Regions from separate parts of the Homo sapiens genome. Here region 1 is linked to region 2. Evidence: promoter capture Hi-C in human tissues and cell types (Jung and others, 2019). All regions are on one chromosome and are shown on one strand. Each heading gives the region's core, a stretch centred on a gene start or on the middle of the fragment in contact. The rest is flanking DNA. Distances are from core to core; before and after follow the strand shown.

Region 1 (6,013 bases), core at 1,907-4,406, 220 kb after region 2:
AGAAGAGTTGGTTTCCGTTCCTCCTCCTTGTGGCCCACCTTGGCCCACCTTGTGGCCCTCCTTGTGTCTAACCTTGGAAGTTAGACAGTCCCAGCAGAGAGAGTTTCTTCTTCCAGCTGCAGCAGAAGTTCCACGATGGGCTCTGACGGGCTGACCCGGGGCAGGTGCCTAACTCTGGACCAATCTCTCAGGCCCACCTGCAACTTGGGGTGAGAAGACAGTGCCACCCAAACCACCTGGATGGAGAATGGGGGAGAGGTACTACCCTGATAGCAACACGCTAGAGGCTCACAGCCAGGGCTCCTGGGTTTTGGGGTCTCCGGCAACCCAAAACGTGTGACACTTGTACTGTTACAGGAGAGGCACATTTTGGGGCTCAGGCATTTAGATTTTGGACGGCAGACCTTAGATAGGACGTGGAGCAGGAGGCAGAAGTGGCCACCTCCCCGGGCACTCTCATTACCATGGAAGGCTTCAGGTCACAAGATGTTGCAACTTTCCCACAGCTCCCTGTGGTTGCCAGGGCACATTCGGTCTCTGGGTAGGGCAGACTGGCACTGCCAGGGAGTCAACCCCCAGGAGCGGCCCTCAACCAATGATGAATGGGTGTTGGCTGATAAATACCCCAGCTTCCTCGCCCTTGTGTGGTGCAACCAAGACCTGTTCTACCAACTGTCCCAGAGGCCCCCAGCAGGATTGAGCCCCTGTTGCCTACAGTATAGACTTGCTCACTCCTGCACTCTGCACAGGCTGCCTTCCCTCCCTGTCCTCTACCAGTGCTTCCTGGGGCCGCCTCCCCAATAAAGTACTTGCTCTCACCTCCTTGTCTTAGTTTCTGCATCTGGGGAATCCTAGCCTAAGACAGGGCTGTTGCTAGAAGAGAGACTGGATGTCGGGCAGGCAAAGAAAATCAATAACACAATGACAAATTAAAAAGAAATTACAGGCTGGGTGCGGCAGCTCATACCTGTAATCCCAGCACTTTGGGAGGCCCAGGCGGGTGGATCACTTTAGGCCAAGGGTTCGAGACCAGCCTGGCCAACATAGTGAAACCCCGCCTCTACTAAAAATACAAAAATTAGCCAGGCATGGTGGTGCATGCCTGAAATCCCAGCTACTTGGGAGGTTGAGGCATGAGAAACGCTTGAACCCGGGAGGCAGAGGTTGCAGTGAGCCGAGGTTGCACCATTGCACTCCAGCCTGGGGAACAAAATGAGACTGTCTCAAAAAAAAAAAAAAAAAAAATTCCAGGGGCCACAGGACTCACACCGCTTGGCATGTTTGAGTCACCTGACCTGGGACCCCTCTAACTTTGCTGTGACAGGCCCTCTTCAGGTACTGCTGCCTCTGGGCCTGGATTCCAGTGCACAGGACTGTCACTTTTCCAACTTAGCCGCCAGCACAACAGAGATGTCCCCTCAGAGGTCATGGTTCTCAGGCCAAGGGTCATTTCAGGATGGTCATCATGGCCATCATCGTGGCCGTGGCGTCAGACTGAGAGTGATCCCTGTAGATTCCAGGATCTGCAGCCAGGCTTGGGAACTGCTCTTAGGAATACACCTGAATGACTCTAAGGCGCCTGACTTTGCAGCTCCTTTTTAAGAGGCAGAGCCCGTTTCCCTTCTCCCTGAATCTGAGCTGGCCTGGTGACTTGTGCAGGCGCCCACCAGGGCTGCCAGATCTTTAAAGAGAAACCAGCAAGCTGGAATTTTTGTCAATCTCTGGACTTTTTGAGATGGAGTCTTGCTCTGTTGCCCAGGCTGGAGTGCAGCGGTGCGATCTCAGTTCACTGCAACCTCCACCTTCCGGGTTCAAGCGATTCTCCTGCCTCAGCCTCCTGAGTAACTGGATTACAGGCTCCCACCACCATGCCTGTTTTGTATTTTTAGTAGAGACGGGGTTTTGCCATGTTGGCCAGGCTAGTCTCGAACTCCTGACCTCAGGTGATCCGCCCACCTCAGCCTCCCAAAGTGCTGGGATTACAGGCGTGAGCCACTGCACCCCCGCCCTTATTTATTTTAAAATCTCTTGACTTTTAAACATGGGTAACTAATTTAAATTCTATAAAAATACTGTGAGGAAAAACTAAGCCCTGGTCATTCAAATTATGGTCAGGGGCCAGGCGCAGTGGCTCGAACCTGTAATCTCAGCACTTTGGGAGGCCATGGCAGGAGGTTGACTTGAGGCCAGGAGCTTGAGACCAGCCTGGGCAACTCAGTGACACCCCTTCTCTGCAAAAAAAATTTTAAAAATTAGCTGGGCATGGTGGCATGTGCCTATAGTCCCAGCTACTTGAGAGACTGAGGTGGGAGAATCACTTGAGCCCAGGAGGTCAAAATTGCAGTGAGCCGAGATCGTGCCATTGCACTCCAGCCAGGGCAACAGAGCGAGACCCTGTTTCTAAGAAAGACAAGAAGTGTGGTCTGGGGACCTGAAGCATCAGCATCGTCAGAGAGCTTGTTGGAAACGCAGAATTGCTGGCCTCACCCCAGGCCCAAATCTGCATTTTAACAAGATCTCCTCGTGACCTGTGGCATATTAAAGTTTGATAAGCACTGGATTAAACAAGCAGGGAACAGGACTTGGCTCCAGGATGCCGTTGTGACTTCTGTTTCAGGATAAGCCACACCTGCTAAGCCCTAGCAGTGACCTAAGTCCATGATTCAGAATCCACACACCACCTGGTGGCTCCTTTTATTATATCAATTTATTCAAGTGATTAAAAAACTTCTTGGCAGCAGGATGACAAAACAGGTCTGTAAACATGATCTCATCCCCCCATCCCTTCTTCCAAGGAGCTTCCTATGACAGGAAATCGAATTCTAGTTGGCAAATCCAGTGATGAGGTCTGTAGAAAAGGGGTCCCGTGTCACAGCCAGGAAGGCAGACTCGTCCCTTTAACCCACTCCAGCCAGGGGTGCTGGCCAGGATGTGCTGTTCTGTCATGACGTGGTCACTGAGTCTGGTTCGTTGGCAGCCCCTTCCCCAGGAGGAGGGAGACTCTTTGGCAGTGCGGCAGCCCTCCCGGGGGCACGGGCTTCTCGGCAGCAGACACAGGCAGGCCAGAAGCAGGCAGCTGAGCCTCTCCAGCGAGCATGGTATTGCTAGGGTTGCAGGTGCCCTGGCAGGTGGCCAGGTGAGGGGCTGAGGCACAAGTGCTATCAGGAACTTGGCTGCCCCACAGGGGCTGAGGACACCCAGATGGTCCACGCCAGTGGCCTTGAAATTTCCCCTGCAGAAGCCAGACCGTGGGGAAACAAGCTTTCGCGACGTGCCACCCCGGGCAGCTTGAGGCTTCAGTCCTTGAAGGGGTTGTGGGCGCCCCCTGGCTGCTCCTTCTCTGCGGCCAGAGGCTCCCCGTTCATCTCCTGCAGCGGGTGGTATGCATAGTCCCCATGCAGGCGCCGGTTCCTCTCTGCTCTGGACAGGAGCAAGGACAGGTTTGCTGCAGTGCTGATCAGCAGGAGGAAGGCCAGCGCCAGGGTGAGGGCTAGCCAGGCGGTCCTGCAGACAGGAGAGAAGCCCCAAGTGGGGGACTGCTGGGTGGGCTCAGGGCTTGGGTAGCACTGGAGGGGCTTCCCTCTACCCGGCATAGATAGCACTAAATCAGGTGCCTCCAGGGACCACACAGGGAATGTTATGAGCAAAATGGACTAGGTGGGGATGGGGCAACATTTAAGACATGTGCAGGGAACAGCAGAGGCAGTCATGACGTACAATGCAGGTCCGTGCTGCCCCATCTCCTGATTTTTTTTTTTTTTTTTTGAGACAGAGTCTCGCCCTGTCATCCAGGCTGGAGTGCAGTGGCATGATCTCAGCTCACTGCAATCTCCGCCTCCTGGCTTCAAACGATTCCCCTGCCTTGGACTCCCGAGTAGCTGGGACTACAGGCTCGAATCACCACGCCTGGCTAATTTTCGTATTTTCAGTAGAGACCAGGTTTCACCATGTTGGCCAGGCTGGTCTTGAACTCCTGACCTCAAGTGATCCACCTGCCTCGGCCTCCCAAAGTGCTAGGATTACAGGCGTGAGCCACCACGCCTGGCCTGATATTTTAAGAGAAGCCATTAAAAAGGTTTTTAAGGCTGGGCGTGGTGCTCATGCCTGCAATCCCAGCACTTTGTGAGGCTTAGGCGGGCGTATCACTTGAGGTCAGGAGTTCAAGACCAGCCTGGCCAACATGGCGAAATCCTGTCTCTACTAAAAATATGAAAATTAGCCGGGCACCTGTAATCCCAGCTACTCAGGAGACTGAGGCAGGAGAATTGCCTGAACCCAGGAGGCGGAGGTTGTGGTGAGCTGAGATCGCACCACTGCACTCCAGCCTAGGCAACAGAGTGAGACCCCGTCTCAAAAAAAAAAGTTTAAAAAAATGTGAATGTTACTGATTTTTAGATGCTGCTGATATATTTTAACTTTTTAAAAATTATGTAAGCCAAATAAAACACAGCTGGATGCTGGGCATGGGGGCTGGGAGGCCAAGGTGGGAGGATCACTTGAGCCCAGGACTGTGCACCTCGTCTGTGCAAAATAGTGAGATCCTATCTCTAAAAAACAGTAAGAAATAAAATTAGCCGGGCATGGGGGCACGTGCCTGTCGTCCTAGCTACTTGGGAGGCTGAGGCGGGAGGATCGCAGTGAGCTGACTGTACTACAGCACTTCTGCCTGGGTGACAGAATGAGGAAACCTCCTGCCCCCACCCTGGGATCTCATCTAGCCCAGTTTGCATTCTGAGCTCCAGTGGGGGATGCTGACAACAGAGGCTGGGCACTCGAAGGCCCTGGGCTCTGCTCCAGGGTCCCCAAAGCAGACAGTGGGGAGAGCTGGTCCCGCTTCCTCTAAGGCAGGGAGCTGGCAGGGGACAAGGGCAGAGATGGACCTCACAGGGGAAGGGTGCGGGAGAGAAGGGGGATTCCTCCCGCCCTGGCCCCAGCTCCCACAGAAGCACCTACCTGGTGAAAAAGGAGAGTTCTCCCGCCCTCAGGGTGGCTTCAGGTGGCTGGAGACACTGCTTTACTGTAACATACCAGAGACAGGCTGAAGGGGCCGGAGCAGGAGCGTCTGCCCATACCCCTCCCCTTGGAGGGATAGGTACCTCTGGAGACGCTGCAGTTGCCAGTCTTGGGGTCACAGGGACAATGGTGCTCACACTTACAAGGCCTCTGGCAGCCCGGCCCATGCCAGCCAAGGGGACACTCTATGGAAAGGAGATGGGAGGAGGGAGGAGGGAGGAGAAAGGTTGGGGCCTCCAGTGTCAGAGCCTTTCTCGACAGGACAGGATACCTGCCCCTGCCCATGTGTACAGAGCCGGGCTAAAGGTGAAGCACCCCCTGCCCTCCCTGGACTAGCCCCTGAACGTGACCTTATTTGGAAGCAGAATCTCTACAGAGGCACTGCAGTTAGGATCTCAAGATAAGACCGTGCTGGATTTGAGGTGGGCCCTGGAGCCAGAGCCCGGGGACCCTTGTTTTAGCCGAGCCCTTTGTGGAACGGGCCGCAGCAGCCACAGGGGAGTCACACAGTGATGTGCAGGTGAGGCCGGGGCAGAAGACAAGAGGCAAGCATTTCCCAGACCAGAAGGTGGAGACAGAAGCAGCAGAGGAGCAGTGGGGGCTGCCGGGGGCCACCGTCTCCCCATCCGCTAGTGGCGTGGCAGCTCCTACCTTCACTGCAGTTGGACCCGGTCCATCCGGCATCACAGCGGCAGCCGGCTGCCGAGACAAGACCGGGGAGGCCAGGTGAGGGCCTAGGGCAAGGCAGGGCTGGGCAGAGCCCCCTCCCCAGAACCCCCACTCACTCTCCGTGCACAGTCCGTGCTGGCTGCAGTTAGAGGGGCCACAGTCCAGCTCATCACAGCCGGGACCCCGCCAGAAGTGCCCGGTGCATTGGCAGTGCCCGTCCACGCAGGTCCCGTGGCCGTGGCAGTCAGGCGGCTGGCAGCGGGGTTCGTGCACACACACCACGGTGGACACTTGGCGGGGACAGCGCCACATGTTGTCCTGGCTGTAGAGG
Region 2 (3,876 bases), core at 1,377-3,876:
TAATGCCCAAGACAAGAGTCTGTGCGAGTTGCGGAGGGAAGCAAACAGGGCGACAAGGCAGGGGCAAGGGTGCTGAGATGGAGACAGTCGGGGTGGAGGGGGCAGGGGAGGAGGCTGGGGCCCATTGGTACAGGAGCTGCCAGGGAGCATGGGCCTCATCCCCAGAGCCATGGCAAGTCCCTGGAGGCTCTGGGCAAGGGAGTGACTTTTCAGAGGGCTTCTGAACCATCTCATCCAGCCAGCTGCTGTGGGGACTCCACAGTCCCGATGTGGCCCTCGGGGCTCTCAGGCCAGGTTCTCTACCTCCCCACATGGCGCAGCCTCCAGGGCTTCAGGAAACGCCTGCCCCCAGCTTTGCTGTTAGGAAACACCCTCCCAGGCTTGCTGTGGCCACAGATCCCCAGGGCTAGTCCCTCTCCAGGGAGGCCCCGCGGCAGGCCTGCTGCCGCCTGTCCTTGTGGCTGAGCACTAGCCAGGAGGGGCGGGGTCACCTGCTGCAGCTTCCACTGCTTGTCCTCCCGGAAGGCGAAGTGCAGCAGCTGGTTGTTCCGGGGCATCTTCAGGTTCACATCCTGACAGGCAAGAGTGGGGTGAGCTGGGCAGTGGGGGGGCACCTCCTGCCACAGCCACTCTGAGCCCTTAAGCCCAGGGCAGAAATGGGGTGTGTGGTGGTTCAGGCCTTGGCCGCTGTATAGGGCAGAGGGTCTCCCAATGCCTTGGCCGTTTGGGGGTTGAACAGGGAGGTCAGGAAACAGGAAACCAGGCCCAAGAAGAGCCACAAAGAAGTGAAATGGAAAGAGGTGAAGAAAGGGGAAGGGGAAGAGGAAAGGCAGCCTCTGTGAGGCTCTGTGCGAACGGGGTGCATCTAGTGTCTACAAAGGGCAACAGATGGAGCCCAGGAGGGGGGCCTCCCCCCACGCCTTGGTGCCTGGCACAGAGTCGGGTGCAGACTGGAGTTCAGGCATTGGCTGATTCAACTGTGATGTGTGGCCAGCCTAATCCACCAATGCCCATGTTTCACTGGTCCGGACGCCAGGCCAGGCCGTGTGCAAAGAACCCCTCTCCTGCACCTCTTACTGAATCTGCACACCGATCCCGGGAGAAGGTGTGAGGGTTGCTGTCATTTTCCAAAGGAGAAAACTGAGGCCAGAGAGATCAAGGGTCCCGCCCAGAGTCGCAGGGCTTGTACAGAGAGAAAGTGGGAGCTCCCATGCTCTTCCCCATTGGCAGGATGGGAGGGGACAGGGCCGGGGGACTCACCGCCTGGCTGAGGGCATCCCCCTGCAGAGTCAGCACACCCTTCACCTGGTCTGTGCTGTAACATGTGGCGTCAGAGCGGTGCCTGTGGTCACCCCCCCACCACCCAGCCCTCCCTCCCGGCGGGCTGCCCCTCCTGTCCCATCGCACAACCAGCTGGTCTGCAGGACAGGGCTATGGCCATGCCTCCTACCCCCCAAGGTACCCATTTCCCCGGTTTCCGCCTAGCCCAGGCTCACCCACAGCTGCCTAGGATGAAGTTCTCTTGCTTGGCGGGCCCCTCAGTGCCGGAGCCCGGCAGAGTGAAGCGCAGAGAGGCCTCCTGTGGAACAGAGGGAAGGAGGGGAGCTGGTAGCGCCCACTCAGGCCCGGCCCAGTGCTCCTTCCAGAAGCCCCCCTCCCTCCAAGTCAGCGGGGGGAAGGAACAACGTGGCCTGGCCTCACCTGGGTTCAGCTGGGGTGGGAAGACCCTGCCCAAGCCCCCAGGGCACCTAACCGTGAGCCCGATCTCTGCTTATACCACATTCCCTGAACACCTCCTGTGTGCCCGCCTCGGGGAATACAAAACAGACAGGGGCAGCCTCCCAGCTTGGTTGAGGGGGAAAGGGGCAAGGGGCAGAGTCAGGGAACAAGGCAGTAGTTATGGTAACCCGCGGTCCTGGGCCACAGCAAGCACTACGCCGGTTACTTCTGTGAGCTGCCTGGCTCATTTATCTACACCCCAGCCTCGCGAAGCGGGTACTGTTATCTCCCTTTTGCCAATGAGAAAAGGGAGGCCCAGGGAGGTTCAGTGACTTGGCTGAAGTCACACTGCCAGGCAGAGGCAGAATTCTTCGGCTCCCAGATTGGATGCCGCTGCTCCCAAGGCGGCCTTCCCCGACCCGAGGCCGGGCGGGACTCAGGCCCTTGCTAGCACCCTCGTCGGGACCCGCCCCTGCCCGCACACAGGTACTTATATAATGAGGTCGGCTCGAGTTCGCGGAGGCGGGGCCCTGCCTGAAAGCCGCGGCAGCCGCACACTGTAGGCGCTCAGGACGCAGCCGCGCGGCCCCAGGTGGAGCCAGGGAAATGAGGAGGGAGGGCCGCCACGCCCGGCGGGGCAGGGCGCGGGTCGTTACCTTGAGGATGTCCTGCAGCTGCTTCAACACAGCGTGCACCTCGTCGTGCAGCAGCCAGCGGAACTCCTCCTCCTGCGGGACAGACCCGGCGGTCGCGCCCGGCCCCGCCGCCCCGCCGGCCCGCCCGCTGGCCCGCGCGCCTTACCAGCACCGCCCGCTCCGCCGCCGTCGCTGCCATCACGGTGGCCATGGCCGCAGGCCGCCGCCGAGCGCCCTCCCCACCGGCCGCTGCTCCTGTCCACCAATCTTTCTGTCCTCGGTCCTCCGGTCCTCCCGTCCGCCCCCGGCGTCTGGCTCCGCCCCCACCCGATTGGCGGAGCGGGTACCACCCCGCCCCCAGGCCGGCTCCGTGCTCGCGATTGGCTGGCGCCTGTCGGTCCGCCTCGGCCCCCGAAACCTGCGGGAGCCCTGGAACCAGACTGGCGGCTGCGGGAGTGAGGCTCGCTCCGCCTGGCCAGGGACGCGGCCGGCGGCTGCACGAGTCAGGCTTGCTCCGGCTGGCCAGGGACGCGGCCGGCACCAGCCTGGGGCGCCCGCTTGGGGGCGGAGCTCCCGGGGCGCCCCCAGGATATGATAGGGCGCTCTGCTCCACTCGCGCTCACTCATTGGCCGGCAGGACAGTCTGTCCCCGCTCCTCCTCCCTATTGGCCCGCTTGGCTCCATTGGTCGTGGTTCCAACCCTGCCGCGGACCTCGCCGCCACTCCCAAGTCCGTCTCACCCCGGACGCGGAGGTCCCGAAAACCCACCCCGGCCCCGCCGCTGCCTTCTCCTCCCACCCATCTCGCCGAGGACGAGGGAAGCAGGACTCCTGCGGCACAGCTGTGTTACCAAGAAGTGTTTTATTTTTCTTGCAGTAGCTTTGTTAATTGCACAAAATCATGTTTTGTTTTTGCCATTTAAACATTATCACACAATCCTATTCTGAAAGACAAATGTTCATTAAAAACAAAGCAAAAATAAAAATTCACAACCTTAATTACCTAGATTTGTCATTTAAAGGTTTAAAGAAAAAAGGGAGGGGCTTTCTTACAAGCTTTTTCACAAGTGTCACATTTTCTCCTTAAAAGGGAAGGATTTCAAAAGAAAGGTGAAATAGCTTAAACAGAAATATTCATAAAAAGGAACTTTACAGAATTGTCAACAATATTAAGACAAAATTGACTAACCGGTTTCATTACCGCATCTTCCCCCGCCCCCACCCCCAGTGTGTTCCGCCAGGACTAGAACAGGCTTTGTGTTCAGACAGAAATGCTTCAAAATCCCAGTGAAATGAACTGTGCTAAAAACCCGACAGGCATCTTCCCTGCCCTCCCCCCACTCGTCTTCTGCAATCCTCTAACCCAGTTTCTAATCTCTGAAAGGGGCCAAAGCTGTGAGGGGGGAAGGACCCCGCCCTAGTGTGGCCACCCTATATATAATTACATATTGCATCGTAAATGCTGGCCTTCCTTCTGCAAATTATGATTTTGGAAAATCCAACCCATGCAGAGGGATAAAAAA

Evidence for each region. The method cuts DNA at HindIII sites, captures the fragments that hold promoters and counts their contacts. A contact is called where the count stands out against the background at its distance.
Region 1: a fragment that was not itself captured here is called in contact with the fragment with the promoter of ROGDI in region 2 in 1 of the 25 tissues and cell types used here (hippocampus).

Annotation. Positions count from the first base shown.
Region 1 is chr16:5,022,182-5,028,194 of GRCh38, forward strand. It overlaps NAGPA (N-acetylglucosamine-1-phosphodiester alpha-N-acetylglucosaminidase), which reads right to left. Exons shown (of 10, transcript NM_016256.4): 6 at 5,799-6,004; 7 at 5,665-5,712; 8 at 5,097-5,198; 9 at 4,954-5,017; 10 at 2,663-3,504. The coding sequence ends at 3,297. Among named protein-coding and RNA genes, the nearest start is that of NAGPA-AS1, 8.5 kb to the right of the region's middle. RefSeq lists a silencer at 3,227-3,521. The HindIII fragment of the contact is 7,059 bases long and covers 1-6,013 here.
Region 2 is chr16:4,800,007-4,803,882 of GRCh38, forward strand. ROGDI (rogdi atypical leucine zipper) reads right to left here and starts at 2,627. Exons shown (of 11, transcript NM_024589.3): 1 at 2,521-2,627; 2 at 2,376-2,447; 3 at 1,497-1,579; 4 at 1,261-1,315; 5 at 492-572. The coding sequence starts at 2,565. It overlaps GLYR1 (glyoxylate reductase 1 homolog), which reads right to left. Exons shown (of 16, transcript NM_032569.4): 16 at 3,197-3,876. RefSeq lists an enhancer at 2,135-2,635 and silencers at 2,141-2,200, 2,241-3,030, 2,923-3,134. The HindIII fragment of the contact is 9,245 bases long and covers 1-3,876 here.